Regions from separate parts of the Homo sapiens genome. Here all the other regions are linked to region 4. Evidence: promoter capture Hi-C in 16 types of primary human blood cells and fetal thymus (Javierre and others, 2016). All regions are on one chromosome and are shown on one strand. The core of a region is centred on a gene start or on the middle of the fragment in contact, and the rest is flanking DNA. Distances in the headings are between cores, read along the strand shown.

The links. The method cuts DNA at HindIII sites, captures the fragments that hold promoters and counts their contacts. A CHiCAGO score of 5 or more calls a contact.
Region 1: a fragment that was not itself captured here is called in contact with the fragment with the promoter of MMP14 in region 4 in 14 of 17 cell types (neutrophils, naive B cells, total B cells and 11 more); the score reaches 19.7 in neutrophils.
Region 2: a contact is called between a fragment that was not itself captured here and the fragment with the promoter of MMP14 in region 4, in 1 of 17 cell types (neutrophils). The highest score is 5.3, in neutrophils.
Region 3: a fragment that was not itself captured here is called in contact with the fragment with the promoter of MMP14 in region 4 in 1 of 17 cell types (total B cells); the score reaches 6.0 in total B cells.

What each region holds. Positions count from the first base shown.
Region 1 is chr14:22,575,096-22,578,738 of GRCh38, forward strand. DAD1 (defender against cell death 1) reads right to left here. Exons shown (of 3, transcript NM_001344.4): 2 at 1-138. The coding sequence ends at 8. Among named protein-coding and RNA genes, the nearest start is that of DAD1, 12 kb to the right of the region's middle. The HindIII fragment of the contact is 4,300 bases long and covers 1-3,517 here.
Region 2 is chr14:22,535,910-22,539,393 of GRCh38, forward strand. It overlaps TRA, TRAJ8, TRAJ7 and TRAJ6. Among named protein-coding and RNA genes, the nearest start is that of LINC02332, 19 kb to the right of the region's middle. RefSeq lists an enhancer at 968-1,437. The HindIII fragment of the contact is 8,118 bases long and covers 1-3,484 here.
Region 3 is chr14:22,507,025-22,510,721 of GRCh38, forward strand. It overlaps TRA, TRAJ34, TRAJ33 and TRAJ32. Among named protein-coding and RNA genes, the nearest start is that of TRD-AS1, 26 kb to the left of the region's middle. RefSeq lists enhancers at 1,936-2,015, 2,746-3,095, 3,286-3,435. The HindIII fragment of the contact is 3,599 bases long and covers 1-3,137 here.
Region 4 is chr14:22,834,983-22,838,725 of GRCh38, forward strand. MMP14 (matrix metallopeptidase 14) reads left to right here and starts at 1,603. Exons shown (of 10, transcript NM_004995.4): 1 at 1,603-1,943. The coding sequence starts at 1,836. MRPL52 (mitochondrial ribosomal protein L52) reads left to right here. Exons shown (of 5, transcript NM_180982.3): 5 at 1-55. RefSeq lists a silencer at 1,261-1,477. The HindIII fragment of the contact is 13,873 bases long and covers 391-3,743 here.

The DNA of each region.
Region 1 (3,643 bases), core at 118-2,617, 260 kb before region 4:
GAATGATTCAGCCAACAAAGTTCATGACAACAAGGTGCAGGATGGTGCTGGCAAAGAGAAAATCAGCAAAGGCTCGCTCTGGGGAGATGCCTTGGAAATCCGCTTTGTTCTGTGGGTTGATCTGTATTCTCAGGCAAACTGCACAAGAAGCAAAACACAAAAAAATGATTATATAGAAGTATAAAATAAATATGCTAATGAACACAGACATACCCGAGGACCCAACAATTCTACTCTAACAGAAATGAATGCATATATACATCAAAGGGCATACACAGAAATGATACCCAGATAGCCCCAAACTGGAAACAATCTAATGTCTATCAACAGTAAAATGGATAAATTATAGCATATACAAACAATAGAATATTATACTGCAATGAAAAAGAACTTCTGCTATACACAAAAATGGATGAATTGCACAAGTAAGTTGGGCAACACAATCAAAAACTTTATTTTTTGGGGAGTCGGGGACAGAGTCTCGCTCCGTCACCCAGGCTGGAATGCAGTGGCATGATCTCGGCTCACTGCAATCTCCACCTGCTGGGTTCAAGCAATTCTCCTGCCTCAGCCTCCCAAGTAGCCGGGACTACAGGCATGCGCCACCATGCCCGGCTAATTTTTTGTATTTTTAGTAGAGACGGGGTTTCACCATGCTGACCAGGCTGGTCTCGAACTCCTGACCTTGTGATCCACCTGCCTCGGCTTCCCAAAGTGCTGGGATTACAGGCATGAGCCACCGTGCCCGGACAAAACTTAAAAAATACACACTGGCTGGCCAAACCAGCTGGAACCTGGCAGGTACCCAGAGGAAGCCAAAGACAAAAAAGCCCAGCTCCCACACAGAGACCACAGGGCAGAGCCTAAGTGTATATGCTGGGGGAACAAATGTACCCCCTCAATTAGATGAGGAATATTCTGGGATGCAGCCACACAGAGCCACTGAGAACTCGGCAGGAGACAGGGTCTGGTGGTGCTGCCCAGGCCGGACTGGAACCCAAGCGATCCTCCCACCTCAGCCTCCTGAGCAGCTGGGACCACAGGCACGGGTGAACACATCTGCCTAGCTCCATGGTATTTTTAGTGTGACCTTCTATTTAGGGATAATGATTCAGGTTTTCCATTATAAGTTTATTTTAAAAATACATTTACTACAGTTAAAAAATGAATCAATTTAATTGCTTTGTTTTTTAAGAAACACACAAAAACCCTCGTATACAAAATCAAATGATTTTCAACCAAACTGACAAAACCACTCAATGGGGAAACAGTCTTCTCAACCAACGATGCTGGGAAAACTGGATATCCATAGGCAAAAGAATGAAGCTGGACCCTTACCTTATACCATATACTACAAAAATTAACTCGAAACGGATCAAAGACCTAAATCCGAAATGGATAAAGACCAAAAACTAAAAAACTCTTAGAAGAAAACAGAGCAAAAGTTTTATGGCATTGGATTTAGCAATGATTTATTGGATATGACACCAAAAGTACAGTCAACAAAGTAAAAATAGATAAATTGGACTATATCAAAGTTTAAAACTTCTGTGATAAAGGTACAATAAAGGGCACAACAGTGAAAAGGCACCTACGGAATGGGGAAAAATATTTGCAAATCACTTATCTGATAAAGGGTTAATATCAGAATATATTAAAGTACCCCTACAATGCAATTAACAACAAAATAATAACCAGATTTTAAAATGGGCAAAGGACTTGAATAGACATTTCCCCAAAGAAGATATAGGAATGGCCAACAAGCATATGAAAAGATGCTCAACATCATTAATCACTAGGGCAATACAAATCAAAATTACAACGAGATATCACCTCACATCTATTAGGATGTCTAGTATCAAAAAAACAAGAGTTGGCAAGAATGCAGAGAAACTGAAACCCTTGTGCACTAACAAGTGGGAAAATCAAATAGGGTAGCCAGTGTGAAAAACAGTACTGCGTTTCCTCAAAAAAATTAAAAACAGAATTGCCATATCATATAATCCAGCAATTCCACTTCTGGGTACATATCCAAAAGAAGTGAAAGCAGGATCTCGGCCAGGCACAGTGGTTCACACCTGCAATCCCAGCACTTTGGGAGGCTGAACCAGGCGGATCACCCGAGGTCAGGAGTTCGAGACCAGCCTGGCCAACATGGTGAAACCCCGTCTCTACTAAAAATACAAAAATTAGCTGGGCGTGGTGGTAGGCGCCTGTAATCCCAGCTACTAGGGAAGCTGAGGCAGAAGAATCGCTTGAACCCAGGAGGTGGAGGCTGCAGTGAGCCGACATCACTCCGTCCCACTCCAGCCTAGGTGACAAGAGAGAAACTCCATCTGGGAGGTTGGGAGGGTGGGGGATGGAACCAGGCTCTCAAGCAATATTTGCATACCCATGTTCATAGCAGCATTAGTCACAATAGCCAAAAGGTGAGAGCAGCCCAAGTGTCAGCAGAAGAACGGATAAGCAAAGTGTGATGTATACATACAATGGAATACTCAGCCTTAAAAGGAAGGAAATTCTGATACCTGCTACAACACGGCTGAATCTTGAGGACATTATTTTAAGTGACATAAGCCATGACAAAGGGACAAATACCATGTGGTTTCACTTATATGACATCAAGAGTAGTCAAACTCCTAGAAACAGAAAGTGGAATGGTAGATGCCAGGGACTGACAGAGAGGAGGATGAGGAGTTACTGTTTAATGGGAACTGAATTTCAGTTGCGGAAGACAAAAAAGTTCTGGATATGGATAGTGATGATGATTTTACAACAATGTACATGTACTTAATGCCACAGAACTATACACTTAAAAATGGTTAAAATGGTAAATTTTGTCATGTTTTATCTTGACCAAAAACAAACAAAAAAAAGGCCGGGCACGGTGGCTCACGCCTGTAATCCCAGCACTTTGGGAGGCCGAGGCAGGCGGATCACCTGAGGTCGGGAGTTCAAGACCAGCCTGACCAACATGGAGAAACCCCTTGTCTACTAAAAATACAAAATTAGCCGGGCATGGTGGCGCATGCCTGTGATCCCAGTTGCTTGGCAGGCTGAGGCAATGAGGCAGGAGAATTGGTGGAGGTGGAGGTGGAGGTGAGCCAAGATCGTGCCATTGCACTCTAGCATGGGCAACAAGAGCGAAACTCCATCTAAAAAAAAAAAAATTAAAAAATAAAACAAGGGCCAGGCACGGTGGCTCACTCCTGTAATCCCCGCACTTTGGGAGGCCAAGGTGGGTGGATCACCTAAGGTCAGGAGTTCAAGACCAGCCTGGCCAACATGGGGAAACCCCATCTCTAATAAAAACTACAGAAATTAGCTGGGCATGGTGGCACGCACCTGTAATCCCAGCTACTCAGGAGGCTGAGGCAGGAGAATTTGCTTAAACTCAGGAGGTGGAGGTTGCAGTGAGCCGAGATTGCGCCACTGCACTCCAGCCTGGGCAAGAGAGACTCCGTCTCAAAACAAAACAAAACAAAAAAGTATATGCTATATGATTCCATGTACAAAAAGCTTAAAACTTGGTAAAACCAATCTATGGCAAGATAGTGGTTTTTATCTTTCACAGGGAGAGGATAACTGGGAAGATGCAAGGAGGCATCTATGGTGCTGGTAATGTCCTGCATCTTGATCTGGA
Region 2 (3,484 bases), core at 308-2,807, 300 kb before region 4:
TATAACCCAAGGTATACAAAGCAGAATCTTCAGTTGGGTTCTATCTGATTTGTTGTCATCTTCCAATGGTCTTAGGAAAATTAAGGTTAAATAGTAAGATTAGATGCCTCCTACCACTTTGGTACATGCATGCAGACATAGAAACACCCTTAGTAACTAACTTGCATGTGACTTGGCAATCCTAGGCTATGGCCCAGTGACAGGGTCCCATTTTGTACAGAGTTATGTCAGAGTGTGAACACAGGCTTTCAGAAACTTGTATTTGGAACTGGCACCTGACTTCTGGTCAGTCCAAGTAAGTCAAATCTGCAGAAATGTGTAGCCCTATCCTCAATATTGGGCATATATGGATATAATTATTCTGGTCTATAATAGATTATTATTACTACTATTTTGTTCTTATTAATCATAACAATGCTGCTAATTTCAAATATACATTTTCTGCCATATTATTATTTTTACCTTTAAGGAGAATTATTGTCAAGATATCAGGAGGGAAATATTTGAATTTCCTTTGAGTCAAGTTTCTTATTTGTTCGTCAGTTCCCACCTCTCTGCTGAGGGTCATATGAACCTCACGATGTTTTGGTTTTTATACCGCCTTCTTATTATCTCTCTTAGAAATGCTTCCTTGGTTTTTCCTTGCCTAAGCACTTAGATTTTGCAGCTCACATTTACCCAGAGTATACTTAGCTTTTAACCTCTCCCAAAACTGGCCTCCCTGTCCCAATAATTATGCACAGTAAAAGTCAGTTCAATTCAGTAAATGATTATTGAGTATCATCAACAAACCAGGGAATCATCATTGGTTTTAAAAGAAAGAAACAAAGAAAAGAATTTTTAAAACCCTAAGCTATCTTAGGCTTCTGATCTCAAGAACTTCCAGTCTTATCAGAGAAACTAAGCACTCATAATAAAAAGTCTAACAACAATTTATATGTGTATGTGCCAAGATAGGGGGGTGGGTTTCCTGAGGGCTGGAGACAGGACAGGTATGACCATGCACAGCCGCATTCTTTGGCAGAGAACACACATGATTCCCCCAAATATGTTTCTGGAAACGGAATTGAGTCTGTTCTGTGCTGAGATCTTTGACTTTCTTGAGGACAAAAGCCCCCTTGGCAGTTAGCATCCTTGAGCGGGGGTGAGGACAGAAACAGGAATGAGTCAGGCGTGAGTCACCCAAGACTCTCACTCAGCCCCAAGAGGATGGAGTGACTCTGAGTCATGCCGAGGCATGTCTTTAGCATGTGCTCCAGCACAGTGTGCATTTATGGCAAGGTGAAAAATACATTTTTGCACATGTCACTAGGAAAATGGTACCTTCTTCTCAGGCATGGCAGATGAAGTAGGAAAATGCCCGCCTGCTCTCTGGTATCTTTAGAAATACTCACACCCATCCAGCCTATGTAGGATACAATGTTTTTCATGAAGTTTTATGAAGATTCTGTTTTTCCCAAAGGAGAAATAGCCAAAGCTGTGTTTATTGATAGCTGTGATGAGGAAAATGAAGGCCAACAGGTAGCAGTGGGGTCTGGTGCTGTTTATACCCTTTAGGGAGGTTCCTTCAAGTCTTCATACCACCCATTACAAGGAAAACTTTAGCATCCGCCTTTCAGGGTTTCCAGATCTTAGAGCTACTGTGAAGGGGATGTGTCTTCAGAGAAGGGGTGGGCAAAACCAGGAGGTTTTTGTAATACACTTACACAGTGTGACTATGGGAACAACAGACTCGCTTTTGGGAAGGGGAACCAAGTGGTGGTCATACCAAGTAAGTGAGCTGGGATCCTCCTGCACAAATGGCCACAGCCACCCCCATCCCTACCCTGTGCTGGAGAGCCTCTTATCATATTTCCATGGGAGCGGGGGAAGGACATGCCATTCATCAGTGCTATATCGAAGAACCTTAGGCGGCCACTGTCCCAAATCTTTGCCTGTCCCTGGTTTCTTTCACTCTCCCCTTCTCTGCATCTCCACTGACCACACTCCCATTCTCATGTAAGCTGCCCCTGATCTTCCCTGAGGCTGGATTTCAGATTGAACAAAGGACCACAAAAGTGAGAGCTGGAGGGGACCGTGGGGACATCTTGCTCATGTTGCAGAGGGACCTGATGCCAGGGTCTAGCATCTGTCCAAGACCGTGCTGATGGTCAGTGCACAGCAGTGGAGGGGCCCCAGCCCTTTACTCCCACCCTGAGTTTGGTGGAGCCACACAGCTCTTTGCTAAGTGACCCTCAAACCCAGTGTGAGATAAGCTGAGTGTTGACAGTGCCCACCTGCTAGGGAACCAAGTACTGAGTTCCTGCCCCAGCTCAGGACTGTGGCGCAGGCCATGACCTCCCTGAGCCTCAGTTTTCATATCTCTGAAGTAGACAGCATGGTCTCTGTTTCCTCCCATCTTTCAAAAATTCTATGGAAATTATTGTGACTTTTTTCTCTGTAATTGTAGGGTTTCACAGAGGCAGGGCCTTGTCTGAGTCAAGGTCATTAGAAATAAAGGAATCCAAGGGCTTTGGATGCCTTGGCCTAATTCTAGGTGGTAAAGAGGGAAGGATGAAAGCACAAATCACAGGAAGTGCCTAAATCCTGCTTGGATTTAGTGTTGCCTCAAACAGGGATATGCAGAAATCCAACCCCAGGGTCTCCCATAGGAAGAAGACTAGGAGTGGGAAGTGCCAAAGAGCTCTGGAAAGGAAAAGAGAACAAGGAGCACTCTGAGAAAAGGAGGTCAGAACAGCTTCAGGAAAAACGTCACATAAAATTTCCTTTGCTCTCTGTCCTCGCAGCACTTTCAGAAGCTCCTTGCATCTGACTAAAGAGTAGCAGAGCCAGACCCTCAGAATGTCTGCCCCAAGCAAGCAGAGTGTGGTGTTTGTATTGGGGTGCTGGGAGCAGACATGGGGAGTTGCTGCCCTGCTTCTCTGCTGATGGGAAGGTGGTATTTTCCCCTGGGTACACGGGGGCCAAAGAGCTCTCCAGTCCCCAGCCCCTGGCTCCCGCCCCTGGGCTCCAGCACTCGGGGGCTCTAAGGACAGCAGTAGGAGACTTTCTACAACTCAGAGAGTATTCAGGAGGGTTTCCCAGGATGTTGCCCAATACCATGGGGCAATTGGTAGAGGGAGGTCACATGAAACAGGTTTTATCAAAGGCTGTCCTCACTGTGTGCATCAGGAGGAAGCTACATACCTACATTTGGAAGAGGAACCAGCCTTATTGTTCATCCGTGTAAGTATTATAGAAATGATCAAGGGAAATTTTGCAGACAGATTATATTATGGAAGGATACTGTAGTAGTGAGAGTTTGTGTTGTGATCTATTCCATCATTAAAGGAGTCCTTTGTTGCCTGGGAGTAACTATCAGTGTCAGGTCTGATGAGATGATTGAGGCTGTGCCGGACAAGGGTTTTGCACAATGATTTCAGAGGACAAATCCCCAAGTTGTGAAAAAAGACTTCACTCTTGGTTAGGTTTCTAAAACAGAACT
Region 3 (3,697 bases), core at 88-2,587, 330 kb before region 4:
TTTTCCATGCCTGTCTCTTCTGGCAGATTAAGTGGTTATTTCCACTAACTTTCTTGTGGAAAAACACACAAGACAGATATATTCTCCTTCAGTTTTTACTAAGAAAGTTTTGTGGTTATCATTTTGACAATAAACTTCAGCTAGCATAGTCCCTACTATTCATGTTAATAATATCTTGACTTGAACCATCATATTTTCCCCACATCATTCACAATGCATTTCAATGCTGTAACCCACTGCACCATCCCCAGCCCTTTTATCTTCACAACGTTCTCTAATAAGGTAAACAGGATCATACATCATCAAACATATGTCACAGACAGAAAAGCTGACACACAGACAAGTTAAATAATTTAAGTCAAACCAAAAAAAAATCATAACTGGGATTAGAGCTTGAGATTCCCTATTTTCTTACAGTGAACTGTCTTGAGCTGTCACTTAATGCATTGAAAACATAATAAGCACAGGCCATAGGCATTTTCAGAACATGAAACTTGACTGAAACAAAAACTGACTGTTTGATTGCTTTGGTGTTTTAAATGTATCCCCAAATCTCCTTTGCTATTGATAGTCATTTGGTGCCAGTGACAGGGAAGAGCAGAGGGGCTTAGGAGGTTTTTGTAGATCTCAGTATCACTGTGTCTTATAACACCGACAAGCTCATCTTTGGGACTGGGACCAGATTACAAGTCTTTCCAAGTAAGTACTAGAAACCAAGGAGCCATTTTGAAAAGGTGTTTTCTTTTTCTTTTTCTTTTTTTTTTAAATGAAGTTTTGCTCTTTGTTGCGCAGGCTGGAGTGCAGTGGCATGATCTCGGCTCACTACAACCTCCACCTCCCGGGTTCAAGCGATTCTCCTGTCTCAGCCTCCCGAGTAGCTGGGATTACAGGCACCTACCACCACGCCTGGCTAATTTTTGTATTTTTAGTAGAAACAGTGTTTCACCATGTTGGCCAGGCTGGTCTTGAACTCCTGACCTCAAGTGATCTGCCTGCCTCGGCCTGCCAAAGATTACAGGCCACTGCGCCCAGCCTTAAAAGGTGTTTTCTATAAACAGGAACGTTCTCACAGCACTGCAGGCCACCCTTACCAACTCCGAGCTCTGTAGGGGCCTTTAGCACCTATAGCTGCAGAACCTTCTATAAACCAATTAATCTATATGTGAACAATTTAACCTATATGTGAACACCATGGTACTGAGTAAAATCTTACCAGCAGTGAAAAGAAGGCACTAGAGCGTCAGATGCATTATGACTCTAAACAAATGATCTGTTTCCCTCTTTTGCATTTTTATTTAAAATATCAGGGAAGGTGAAGCAAGTTCAACTTCTCCAATTTGAAAACTGTTTCTGAATTATGCTTCCCTTGTATGCAGAGAGACCTAGATTGACTTTGGATGTTTAGTCATTCGATTTAATCAAATGTAATTAAATGAGCAAATAATCTCCAATAGCCAATATTCCTATGTTGTTTCATTGTTTTATGTGCTTTGCTCTAGACTTTTTGTCTGGGCTTTGTCTCTAATAGGATCCCCGGAAGGACAGTGAAGGTTTTTGTTAAGGTTTTTGTGTCTGTGTGGATAGCAACTATCAGTTAATCTGGGGCGCTGGGACCAAGCTAATTATAAAGCCAGGTAAGTCTCAGAGATGTGACTGCACGGGAGAGGAGACACTAGTTGAATAATGCACAAAGTGTAGCATGCAGATTATATTTTTAAGAACAAGTCAGCCTGCTGGAGACAATGCACTCAACCCAAATGGGGTCTCCACTCCCAGTGAGAAGCATGTCAGCCGCTAACTCTTTTGTTTGGTCTAGTAGCTTCCGGAATGAATAATGCTTAAGTAGCCCTCTAAGAGAGCAGAGCCAGGTTGTTAGGGAATATCTAATTCCCTCTGATATGGTTAAAACTCTTTGCCAAGGGCAGAACCAGCCTCATTCCATTGGAAGAGCAAATTCAGAGAAAAAGGAAAGGGTCACACAGCCAAAGACGGTAAAATGTTCAAAGGTGAAAAATAGCCAAGTCTGCAGCTCTCCTGACATCCTTGCCTCAGGCTGCTGTCCCACGTGGAGAGCAGATGCCTGCAAAGCTCTCGGTCACTTGCTGGAGTCACTCAGGGTTCTGGGCCTTGGGATGTAACTTAAATGACAGTGTCAGGGCACTGTCAGAGGAATATGAAGGCTGCAGCGATGCCTGCAAGTCAGCTTTTGCTACACTGGGACTGAGGTGTTCTAAGCCTGGAAAGACACAAAGCTGTCCTCATCCCAACCTGCCGTGCCCCTCCTTGAGGGTTAGTGTAAGGCTCTGAAGGACTGTGTGAATTATGGTGGTGCTACAAACAAGCTCATCTTTGGAACTGGCACTCTGCTTGCTGTCCAGCCAAGTACGTAAGTAGTGGCATGTGTCAGGTGGATTCTGTGTCCATGGCAAGTAGGAAGCGACAGCCACCCTTAGGTGGAAAGGATGGCTGAAGGTTGACTTTGTTCACTGCTGTCATCTCTTATCTGCCGTGATATAGCAGGCTGTCAAAATTCCCATTCTCCTGGATGGCACACCACAGTCAGGGGAGGGGAAACATGCTAATTTTATGATAAACCCCAGGGGAGAAAAAGACTACTGTGGGAAAATTTAGTTGAGAAAATCAAATTGTTCTCAACTAAATGCTGCAGGCTTTATGCTTCTGTGAACCCAGTTTCCCAGTTATTCATTGACCCTGAACATACGTTTACCTGTGCAAATACAATCTCTCCTAACCTATTTATACAATTATGTGTCTGCCGGTCCAAATGCCTTCTTCTATAGGCCATGTTTTTATTTCTCTTCCAAAAGAGACTCCAGAGCCATCCTTGGGAAGAGTGCTGAGAAGTCAGGCAGGCCTAACTCCCAGGGGTCAGGGAGGGGAAAGAGAAGGCTAAGGGTAACTTAGCTCAGTACTAGAACTGTGATCCACGTATCTGTCACTCTATTTCCTACGTTTGCTTCCCTTTTGTTTTCTCTAGAATAAGTTCTTTTTGTTTGCTCTGGACACCCACTGCTCCCAGGATGAAAGGAGAGAAATGAGATCAGTTTTGAACACTTCCTCTTGAAATATAAAGAATCAACAAGTTACAGTCATGTTGGGGACTTCTTCTCTCTCCAAGCTTAAATTTCTATTACGTAAGCCTTACTTTTAACCAAGAAAGTTAGTGACATGGTATCACTGTCTGGGATGCTCACCCCTCTCTCTTTTCTCCAGATACTCCGTGTATACTAAAGCTCAGCCAATGCTCAGCTTTGTGATAAAGGAGCTGTTGTGTGTCTTTATCTCTGCCTTTAGGATACAGTCTTTTTTATAACAGAAAGTGTTCACTTCTCCCATTTATTTCATGGCTGGACTCTCTACCCCTTCCTGGCTGAAACAGCATATGGGTCCATGGTGGAACTTCTTTGGGAAAAAAAAAAAATAGAACTGTTTGACTTTTGCCACTCTTCCCTCATGAAATGTTTTTTAGGCTATCAAATAAGCATTATTACACATTGAGAAGGCTTTGAAAAAACTTGATCACTGAGTCTGGAGGTGAGCTGGGATGGCTCTGTAGCTGGAAAATATCCCTGTGGGTGTAGGAATGTACCGTCCCTTCAAACTTGTGTGTTTAGGGCTGAGCTCACACATACGACAGCAAGAGTTGTTAACAAATTAGATTCAGCTTTGGCAGTTT
Region 4 (3,743 bases), core at 353-2,852:
TGCACAGTTTAGGCCATGTACAGCTGGCATCTAATAAATGTTTTCATGAAAAAGATTTTCTAGCCAAGGTCCCTTTTTTGGCAAGCATCTGGTGTCAGTCTTCCTAAGATTCAGATATGTGGTCCAGGAGGTTACCCCCACTGGGAAGGCTGATGTGGGAAGAATCATACCTGGGTGTTGCGTGTTCTGCCGAGAGTGGGGTCCTGAGGTCTCCATGGTTCTGAATGCATTCCAGAGATTGGTTGAAGAGGGGCCTGTACCTCCCAACCCCAGCTTGTGTAGGAAAGCCCTACATAAGGGCTCAGCCCTCAGTCACTGTGGGGTAGGTAGCTGTTTAATAACACACACCATATACCTCCCACAAACCTGGAGGCTCCACAGGACCTGAAAAGCTTTTCATTTTATTGATCATGAATCTGAGGGCAAAAGACCTTTGTTTTCATTACAATACTGAGCACTAGACTTCTATTCTTCTGCCACAGAAGTGCATCCCTAGGATTTCTGGAGCTTCCTACCTGACCTAATTTCTGTCCACCCTCCTCTATTCCTTCCTTTGCTTTCTTCTCCCTTCCTCCTCGCACTACCTCTGTCCTCTCTCACTGGCCAAATGCAATTCTTGGATCTTAGATTTCGCTGATAGTCTAGTTTTCTGTCTCCCACACTTTTCCTGCTTCTGTTGTGCTTCTTTTCCAGACCTGTCTAGTTCCCAACTCATCTGTCTCCCTTTCTCACGGTCAGCTTTATCCTGCCCTCTCCCTTCCCTACATACCTCCACCTTTTGTTCTGAGTCCAGTAAGTCCCTAAAGGAGATTATAACTCTTTAAGAATTGCCTCCTTTTTCAGTGTAGAGGTGGAACTAAACCCCAGAGTCCCAACTCCCAATCCCTTCTTTTACAATAATTTCACCCAACTTGATTTGCTTTCCCCCAGATCCCACGGCCTTGTACCCTTTTCCTCCCAGCGAGTTCCAATTAAAGGTGCAGCCACATTACAAATGACAATAAAGGAATCACCTTTGTCTTTCTACAAAGGTTGGAGCCACAGATCCGGTATGGTTGTGGGGTTTGTTGTTGGTAGTTGGGTTATAGTTTGGATTTTTTAGCAGCAGAGGGAGGGACATAGACAGTTGTCTACAGGGCCCAGAAGATAACCCCCTATTAGTAAACTGGCCCCTTCTCCCTCTGCAGGTCTCATGGGCATGGAAGAAGACCCCACCACCATCCCACACTCTGAGCTCCTCGTTGCCCCTAGCCACATAGCCCCCAATAATTCCCACCCTGAGGTGAGACAAATGCTGAATACCAGAGGAATCAAGCCACTCAGAATATGCTTATAGGGACAAAGTCTCCCACATCCCGTCCCCTGGATCCCCCTACAGCCCCCTGCTGTCCATCGCGGCCTCAACCCCTGCAGATGGCAGCCTGCACCACAAAAAGGCAACTTAGAGGTGTTTTTTTTTTTTTTCCTTCCAGTTCTTGGTTGTAATTGGATTCAGGCTAAAACAACCACGTCCCCAACCAGGAAAGGAGGGCACTGGGGCGGGGACGGAGGAGAGGCTGTGGGAGAAGGGAGGGACCAGAGGAGAGAGCGAGAGAGGGAACCAGACCCCAGTTCGCCGACTAAGCAGAAGAAAGATCAAAAACCGGAAAAGAGGAGAAGAGCAAACAGGCACTTTGAGGAACAATCCCCTTTAACTCCAAGCCGACAGCGGTCTAGGAATTCAAGTTCAGTGCCTACCGAAGACAAAGGCGCCCCGAGGGAGTGGCGGTGCGACCCCAGGGCGTGGGCCCGGCCGCGGAGCCCACACTGCCCGGCTGACCCGGTGGTCTCGGACCATGTCTCCCGCCCCAAGACCCCCCCGTTGTCTCCTGCTCCCCCTGCTCACGCTCGGCACCGCGCTCGCCTCCCTCGGCTCGGCCCAAAGCAGCAGCTTCAGCCCCGAAGTAAGTGAGCTTCCCGGCCCTTCCCGGAGTCGCGCCCGCCGGGAGGCGAGCCCGGGGGTCTCCTAGGGGACAGCCTCTATTCGGAGAGGAGGGCTTTTGGGATCTCCGCTGCTCAGGCCTGCAGGATTCCCCCTCCCTTTCTTTTTCCTCTTCGTCTCCAAACTTCCAGATCGATCCAACTTTTGCCCGCTTCCAACCAGCTGCCCCCACCCCCTGCGCCGCCGACTCTCCTTCCCATTCCTTCTTTTTTCCCAGTCCTTGGAAGAACTTTACAACTGGGGCGAACTCCCCCTTCCCCGATTCCCTTGGGCTCTGCTCTCAGCTCTGGAACCGCCTGATAAACATTTGGACTCCGCTCAAACCCCGCGCTGTCCCGGCTCCTCGTCATGCGCGAGAGTTTGTTGTTTCTTCGACTTCCCAGCTCTCCAGCGCTCTCCCGCCGGCGCGCCCTCCGATGGGCGCTTCGGCCTCCCCGGGTGGCCCAGGCCTTCAGCGGACGAGTCTGCGGCCAGGTGGGGGTCGAGGGTGGACGGCCGAGCGTCCAGGGCCACAGCCCCCGTCTCCCCGAGAGGACCCCGCTGTGTCCCTACCCGCATCCCTGGCGTCGAGGGTCGCAGCGCCGGCGCGCTGGCCGCGTTTCCGTACACACAAAGCTCTCCTTGTGAGCCGGGCGATCGGCCGGGTCGCTGCCTCCCCCTATCCCCACCCGCGTCGGCGCCTTCAGGCCCTTTTTGTTGTTAATAGTTTTTCTGTGTTAATTGCAGGGAGCCTGGGGGCGTCGCTTGGGGAATGGGGAGAGGGTCTGGTCCGGGGTGCCCTCACGTCGGGGCTGGCTCGGGCGCCCCCCACCCTCACCCCGGCCCAGACGGTGGCCCACCGGGCCCCAGAGGAAGCTGCGTGGGAGTTGTCTGAGGAGGTTTTTCCTCTCTCTCTCTTATTTTGGGGTGAAGGTGGGAGACGGATTTAATGAGCTTCTTATTTTGGGCCATCTCAACCCACTCAGCCTGGCAAGGGCCTGGGTGCGGTTGGGAGGGGCCAGGAAGGGCCCTAGAAGGGGGATGGGATATGGGTTTGGCTTCTCCTCCTTGGTCCCACCCCGGAGAAAACTCTTTGGAAAGAATACTGTCTTCTCTCTGCGTCCCTGAAAGGGTCTGGGGCCGACTGGAAAAGTATGGCCCCAGGAATCGGGGTGGAAGACGAAACGTGGAGTGCTCAGAGACCAGGGAGAGTAAAAACCTGCCCTGGTGCTGGAGGCTGAGCCTGACTGTCCGGGAGGAGTCGTCCTCTTCCCAGGCCTAGAGTCCTCTGAGACCTGAAAGGGAGCGCCCCTAACAAAACGAGCCTGAGCATCTGGGGAGCTGCCGACCGCCAACTTCACTGCCTTACCTTTTTTCCCTCCCCTGCTTTGCTGGGTCCCCCAGGGGAGGGGCGGCTGCCCTGGCTCCGTTTTAATTGGGTCATGGGCGGTCCCAGTGCCAGAACCACCATTTGCTTCTGGGCCCAGGAAGGGAGGGAGGAGCAGCCCCAGAGGCTAGGATCCAGGGCCTACTGCAGAGCTGGAGGTCCCCCCACCCTCCCCTGGACCCCTAAGCCAAGGTGGGAGGTGTTCCGTTGACTTTCTCCTAGGGGATACCTTGCATCTCTCTCATTCGCAAAGACAAAGCCAGCCGACTGGGTTCTTTGACCCAACATAGTTGCTTTTTTCTCCAGGCCAATGTGGAGGGAAAGCTGGGGTGGTGCAGGCCTCATGCAGCTGGGTCCCTCCTACCAGGCCTCCAGAGTCCTGCACCAGCTCCAGGA